Regions from separate parts of the Homo sapiens genome. Here region 2 is linked to region 1. The links are contacts of gene promoters, found by promoter capture Hi-C in human tissues and cell types (Jung and others, 2019). All regions are on one chromosome and are shown on one strand. Each heading gives the region's core, a stretch centred on a gene start or on the middle of the fragment in contact. The rest is flanking DNA. Distances are from core to core; before and after follow the strand shown.

Region 1 (3,762 bases), core at 909-3,408:
AGACTAGACAAGAAAGGACAATCCATGCATGGGGACCATCACATGCCAAGCACAGAGGTACAAAAAACAGCACAGGGTGTGCAAGAAACTCATACTGGTAGGTCGGAAAACAATTAACGGCCCTTCATATTCTTGGCATCTGCCACCCGATGTGACTCAGGAATTCCGGTTCTGACCCCTTCCTCAAACTCAGTGCAAGCTTCAATCCCCAGAGAAGAGTCTGAATTCCCCATACTTAGACACTGCAGTGGGTAACCAACCTTAACTGCCGGCTCCCAGACTAGGGTGGCCCAGTCCACAGAGAGAGAGTTGAGAGGGATGGAGAATACATAAATCTCTAGCTATATTTAGCCTGCCTGGCGTGTGTCTGTCCCTTTACGCACCCCAGGGCTGACCCACAGGTGGCAGAATGGCTTTTTACTAGAATAGTATAAACATTTTTAAATTAAGAAACCAAGGAAAGGGGCCTGTGCCGAGGTGCCTCATCCCAGTGTCTATGTGGCGAGAATATCTGCTGCCCTATTTGCCAACATCCCCAGATATCTCCTGACCCGCGGGTGGGTTCTCCCCCAACCTGGCAATAGCCCTGTCCACAGGAGGTAGAGGCCACCCTCCAGTAAGCAGACCTGGGTTCTAATCCCACCTCTGCCACTGACTAGCTGGTGACTCTGCTGATGATTACAGCTCTCTGGGAATTTGAACGTTTGAGTGCAGTTGCTCAGAGGCTTGTAAAGTAGGAGTTGGCTCCTCTTCCATAAGCTGACCCTGGGAATCCTGGGCTCAGCACTGTCCACTTCAACCCGCTCCAGGGGAAATTATTCTTTAAGAGCATGTAATGCCTAGAAGGGAGAGCTATATGGGAGTGTTATAGCAGAGATGGGGTGATATGTCCCTCTTCCAGAACCTCACACTAAATTAACCTCACAGCTGACTTGCTTCCCCATTGAGCCGAGCCTTTGTGCTTTAGACACACACACACTCCTCTCACCTTTTGCCCAAAGGATGCTACAAAGGCCCAGCCTTAAGACAAAATACTTCTAAATACTTGGGCGTGTGAGGGGAGGGAGGGCAGAGAGACACAGGTCCCACTCCAGATTCTCCCACTACTAGCTGTGTGACCTTGGGTGAGTCATTTCACCTCTTCTGACACTCAATTTTTTTATTTGTAAAACTGGGATACACATCTTTATCGCGAAGCTTCTTTGCATACCGAGCTGGGGTATGCAAAGTGCTGGGCACTGAACCTCCACGGGCACGCGCGGGCGCGGGACCGCTGATCTGTTCCCACAATTACCATGTATTTTCCAGTAAGGCCTCCTCCTACCCCGTTAACCTGCTCCGGATCCCCTCACTCCGGTCCCAGAAATTCTGGGGCGATTTTAACTAGGGGGCGATGCGATCTGCAGCAGCGACTCCGAGGGGGCGAAGGAGTCCCCAGTGGAGCGGACACCAGAGGGGGGCGCAACCGGGGTGCGCGTGGGAACGTGGCCAAAGCACGGCAGCATGTGCCGCGGGGGCGCTGGGAGGCTGGAAACTGGGGTGCCCCTGAGAGCACCCCTCACTCTCGGCAGCTGCAGTCTTGGCACCACGGGTGGCTTCTGACCGTCGGAAGCCCTGGCGAGCCCGGCTCCAGTCACCCCCACCCAGGTCGCCTTGAGTTTGCTCATCAGCGCCCTCGGGCTGGAACAAAGGCGAGGGGGCGCGCGGCATCGCCCCAGCGGCCCTTTTTGCGCATCTGGCCAAAGCCGGGAGAATGAGGACTGGGGTCCCCAAGGTAACCAGGACGCGGTACCCGCCCTCCCGGGGCGCAAAGCCCAGCCGCGGGGCGCGCGCCGAGCTGAGGTCCGGGAGGTACCGGAGACTCCAGCCCGCTGCGAGCCGAGGGCTCCAAGGGCCGTGGGGTAGCTCTCCAGAGTCACCCAGCGGGTCCCCCGGAGGAGAGAAGCCCGGCGCCCGCCTCCCGGGCAGGGCTCCCCGGCGTACCTGGCAGGGTCCGGTGCACCGTGTTGCCCATCGCTGCGTCGGGCGCGGCGTTGGCGGCGGCGCGCTCTGGGCGCGCGGAGGCTAATTACGCGGCGGGCCAGGGACCAGGACCGGGGTCGACGCTCCGGGGCATCGCAGCTGCACGGGCGAGCCGGCGGGCGGCAGCTGGGGCGGGAGCCGGGAGGGAGGCGGCGGCGGCGCCTGCGGGAGGAGGAGGCGGAGCCACCGGCCCGGGCCCGCCGGCTCCGCCCCCGCCTCCCACCGCCTCCAACAGTGCAGGGGCGGGGCCGCGGCCGCCGCATCTTTTGAAAGTTTGCACCAGGCGGCGGGAGAAGCACAGCCAAGCCTCCCGCCCTCGCCGCTCCCGCGCCCGGGCCGGGAAGGCGCGCAGGGCAGCTGGGTGCCCTCGGGTGCCAGGATCGGCAGTCTGCTGGCCTGTCACCCATTTGTTCTAACACTTTGAGAAGGCCCACTGTGTGCCAGGCCCTCTTCCAGGCGCGGGGCCCCAGCCGGCCGAGTCCTAGCCCCGGCAGACCTCTTTGGAGAGTGCTTCGGCCCCGGGGGAACTTACACAGAGGCAGACGGGCCCCTGGGACCATGTAAAGGGCTTGGAGACAGTACACCCAGGGTTCCCGGGTTTGGGTGGAGTCTTTTCTATCCCCTAGGCCAGGTACCGAGGAATAGAAGAAACCCAGTGTCCAAAGATTGGGAAGAGGGAACCCACATTCATTAATTTATTCGCTCATTCACTAAAATATTTATTGAGCACAGTCTATGCACCAGGCACTGTGCTGGGCCGGGTAGATACAGACAAGGTCCCCACTGCCCTGGAGATGGCATGCTGAAGATAGAAATAACAAGCAATTACGATCACATTATATAATAATCAAAGCCAGGAAGAAAATAAAACAGATCCCAGTAGAGTGAGGAGATGACATTGTTTGGGGGCATAGGGAGAATCTGGGGTGGGGGCACATAAGCTCCATCTGATGGACTAGAAGGCGTCGGCCATGAGAAGAGATAGGTAGAGTGTTCCTGGCAGAGGCAGTAACAGGCATTCCTCATTCAGGCACCTGGACCACACTCAGTGGGAAGTGCAGCTGTGCCCTTCTCGAGCTCCATTTCACAGGCTGGAACGCTGAGGCCCAGGAAGTGCAATGACTTCCCCAAGAAGACCCGATTCCAAATGAGCTGTTTTTTTCAATTCTATTTTTCATGCTCTTGTATCCCTTGAGACTTTATGAAATATGTATTATTACTTCCATTTCACAGATAGGGAAATTGAGGCTCTGAGAGTGGAAGAGAGGTGCCCAAGATCTTCCAATGGTACAGGGCAAAGCTAGCCTGAAGCTATGCGAATAAAAGCGGGGTATTCAGGAGACAGCCTTCTGCATCTCCGGTGCCTTCTGCTTACAGTACATGACCCATCCCAGAGGGTTCTAGGGTCTTTAAGGCCAGCTCCAAGCTTCCACTTCCGGGAAACCTTGATTCCCCACTCCCCCCTGACGTCATATGTCTGAACATAAGATTGCCTTGCATTTGAGTTACTAATTTCTCATATTACAGGTGCTCGCCCAGTGACTTAATTTTTAACCCCAAAGTTCTGTTTGAGAAAGGTCCGTTAGCGTGATCCTTTTTTTTTTTCTTTTTTTTTTTGAGACAGAGTCTCACTCTGTCACCCAGGCTGGAGTGGAATGGCACAATCTTGGCTCACTGCAACCTCTGCCTACCAAGTTCAAGCAATTCTCCTGCCTCAGCCTCTTGAGTAGCTGGGATTAC
Region 2 (3,762 bases), core at 615-3,114, 680 kb before region 1:
ATAGTGGAGATGATCCATTTCAAGGACTTGCTGCTGCACGAGTGAGTACTGCCCCGCAGAGGGCCTGGGTGAAGGGGCCACCCAGCAAGGATGGCAATGTGTATGGGAGGAGAGCCGCGTTGCTTCTAGAGGCTGAATGCCTGTCAAATGGAGAAGGCTTCCATTTACTTCAGAAAGCTACACTGACTCTACTAAAAGGCCCCTTTCCTGCTGGCTTTTAGGAAAAGAGAGAATTCCCTCATCAGTCTCAAAATCACAAGCAACAGAAATGGGAAATCGTTTTACTAAGAATGAAATGTGTCGATTCAGTAATACTCTTCATCTTCCCCTTAGCCAAGAACCCACTAGCTCTCAGAATATTCTGAGTAGCTGTAGAGGTGTCCTTACAGACAGCAAATTGCTAATAACATTTGTTGAATATTTACTAAGCGCCAGGCACTGGGCTAAGGGCTCCTTGTGAATTTTTCACTTGATCCTCACCACAGCCCTCGTCACCTCCATTTGACAGATGAGAAAACTGAGACTCACTAAGGCAGAGCTCACACAGCTAGTGACAGGCAAAGCCAGACTTGGGACCTGGCTCCAGTCTGCTGAGCAGTCTGCCTCCAGAACCTATACTCTTAAATCCCGAAAACAGAGCTATAGATGCTTTTCCTGCCTCCTTAACTTTCCTTTCCCTTAGAAGGTTCGGTTTACCTTCTCTCATACATTAGTGCCCTCTCAGAGGAAATGCAAAACAAGTGCCAAAAACTTTAATCAGCTAAACACTTCTATGCCAAAACAAGGAAATGTGAACTTACTTATTTCAAGACTTGAAATTCAATGATAAATTCAGGATGCATCATTTCTTACAAAATATTTCAGCCACAGGATCCTAAATTTTGCAGCATGGTAAAGCATGTTGGTACACAATTGTTCCTAACATGAGGCAGGGCCAGGAGCCCCTGAAGATTTTTTTTTTAAATATTGACAATGGCTCTTTCCTAAGAGACACAGGGCAGAAAGAAAGCCACTAGCCAACCAGTTCAGTACAAGTCATTACCAGTTTGATGGCACTGTTGGTCTCTCCACGGTGACTCATTGAGCCAAATCGGTATAATTTTATGAACTCTTGATCCTCAGTTTGTGCCACAACCTTCTTCCAGTTATGTCCCTACCACACCAACACCACTTAGATGACAGAGAACAGCAAGCACCTCCTGTCTCTTTCCACTTGGTTATAAGGTCATAGGCATCTTGCAACACCCTTGCTACAGTGTTAGAATCATACAATTCATGGCGAAACTCTGCAGGAAGCTCTTGCCAAAAGCAAAACAATATTGCATTTTCCTCGAATTAGGCTAACGCCTTACAAAATATTTTTTATTCTTCAAATATTTTTAAGGGAACAATAGCAGCCACAGCATCATCAACAACAATGATAGCTGTCTTTTTTTATGTTTTTTTAATTTTTTTTCTAATGGTCTAGGCCCTTGGCCAGGGCCTTTACATGGGTTATCTCATTTATCTTTCCCAAAGATGCTACAAGATAGAAATTACTATGCCCAAGAGGAGGAAAGTGAAGCTAAGAGATTAGAGAACTCGGACTGAGGTTTGATTCCTGCTTTTAAGCTTCGGAATTGCTGGTATACATGACTGAAGCCAGTCATCAGGAATAGACTTCAAACCTGCTCCCAGCCTATTATCTCCCTCCTAGACCTGAAAGGGCTCACAGCTCCCCACATGTGGTGGGCTTCTTGTCCTTTTATCAAATATATCCCCATTACACAAGGAGAACACTCTAAAATTCCCTTCCTTCAGGTGCCTCTGGAAGAGAAAAATGCCCCATGGCTAGGAAACACCGTGAGCTTCACTCGCCTCTAGCCCTGTCCCCCATTAGAGAGAGTTTGCTGGCCTCAGGAATCGGTGGGGAATGGGGCCCATTCCTAGTTTATAAGGCTATAATGCATGCCTGGAGCACAGGAATTCTATCTTTCTTGGAGAAAAGTATTCTTTGGGAAAACTGAAGGTTGGAAGTCCCACCCCCTCCCCTTAATTTAAGAAGAAGGTAAAGCTCTCTGGCGTTCTAGTGTCTCCTTCTTGGGAATGTGGCCCTCGGGGCCATGGTCTCCTCACACCATTCAGAATGAGCCTATGACCCCCCACCCCAGCCTGCTCTGGAAATGCAGGCAGCCCATATAAGAAGCCTGGTCACATGCTGTTCCTCTTGCTTCCCCCTAAGTCAGCATCTCTAGGCAGGGGTCTCCCCTAACTCCAGCTTCCCAAAAACCCCCATTACCTTTCCTTCTGAAGCCATGATGTGGCGGTGCATCGACTTGTACTTCTAGCTGAACTGCCTGTTTTTTAGGTTTTTTTTTCCCAACCATCTTAACTGATTAAAGTATCCTATCAGTCCCCAAATATCAAGAAGCCCATTTCCAAATGTGTGGCATTGGTCAAAAAAAAAAAAAAAGAGAGAACTGAATTTGCTTTTCACTTTAGAGATGAGGAAATCACAGTCACCCCAGAATCTGCACCACCCCCATTCTTCAACCCAACCCCCATCCACACCAGAACACTCACCCCCAGTTAATGCTGCTCTTTTCAAGCTCTTCCTCTCCGCTCCCCTCACCCCTTCCTGCCCGCCCCACTTTCTGCACAGCATCTGTCTCCCCCTAGCTGCCGCCTGCCTGGTTTTACCCCCACTCGCCATGTCACTGGGTGCTGGCAGGCTCCAGGCACATCCCCCTCCAAGTATTTTTTAAAATCCTTTAGGCTTGCTGACACCCAGTTGAACGAGCTGGACTTTGTCATTAGACACGGGCTGAGCTTGCAGCCTCAGAAGGCACCAGGCCAGCTCGGAACACGGCTTGGATTAACTTGGTTCGGCACACACACCCCTCCCCGCAGTTCACAGCTTCCTCCTGGAGAGAGAGAGGGCCAAGGGCAGAGGACAGCATGGGCTCATCCAGCCTTCTGGGATCCAGATCCGCCCTGGGCTTCTGGGGGCTCATCTGGCAGACAGAACGCCCTGGCCGGGAAGGCGAAAGACAGTCTGCATATTCCCAAGACAGCCCTCCCCTTACTCTGGGGAAAGGAGCTTGAAGACAGCATCCAGTTAGTATCTCAGAAAGACAGACCCTCACCCCTGCAGTGTGCTCACCTAGCCCTGGTGCCGCGGCAGGCACAGTCAGGTGCTAAAATCCTGTTGCTGCTTTAGCAGACACACTCGGTGAACTTGAGCTCCGGAGGCAGTTTCTAGTTTTCAAAAAATAGAAGGAAACAAGCACGCGTGGAGCATTTCCCTCATATTGCCTCCTGCATGCCCACCTGCCCACCTCAGGGCAGTCCAAGGGACAGGGTTAGGTTGTCTTGCGCTGTCAGGGGCCTGCCTTAGGGGGTTTAAAGCCCTTTGCCCAGCGGCCATGCACAGACTTGCTGACTCCAAAGTCATCAAGCAGGCCCTAAACAGCAGCTGGATCTCTCTCAGCCAGAGCATTCCTCCTCTCTGCTCTGCTCTCAGCCAAGCCCTGGGCCCTGAAGCCCAGAAGCTTCCAAGAGCCACCTTCTCCCTGCTTTTCTCAGTTTTTGCATCCATGAGGTGAGGACAGTTCACTCAATTCCAACTTGAGGAATAATTAATAAAAAGGCAGTAAACTACTTCACACATCTCAAAACACAGTCTGCTCTTTCCACATAGCAACAACTGCCAACTTGCAAAGAAAAGGCTCCATGGGCTGTAACGCAGCCTCTCTGGTGGCCCAGACTTAGGGAGGACAAATC

The links. The method cuts DNA at HindIII sites, captures the fragments that hold promoters and counts their contacts. A contact is called where the count stands out against the background at its distance.
Region 2: a contact is called between a fragment that was not itself captured here and the fragment with the promoter of NEURL1B in region 1, in 1 of the 25 tissues and cell types used here (spleen).

What each region holds. Positions count from the first base shown.
Region 1 is chr5:172,639,659-172,643,420 of GRCh38, reverse strand. It overlaps NEURL1B (neuralized E3 ubiquitin protein ligase 1B), which reads right to left and starts at 2,158. Exons shown (of 5, transcript NM_001142651.3): 1 at 1,984-2,158. The coding sequence starts at 2,014. RefSeq lists a silencer at 2,107-2,396. The HindIII fragment of the contact is 6,548 bases long and covers 699-3,762 here.
Region 2 is chr5:173,319,498-173,323,259 of GRCh38, reverse strand. STC2 (stanniocalcin 2) reads left to right here. Exons shown (of 4, transcript NM_003714.3): 3 at 1-41. Among named protein-coding and RNA genes, the nearest start is that of STC2, 7.0 kb to the left of the region's middle. The HindIII fragment of the contact is 5,604 bases long and covers 1-3,762 here.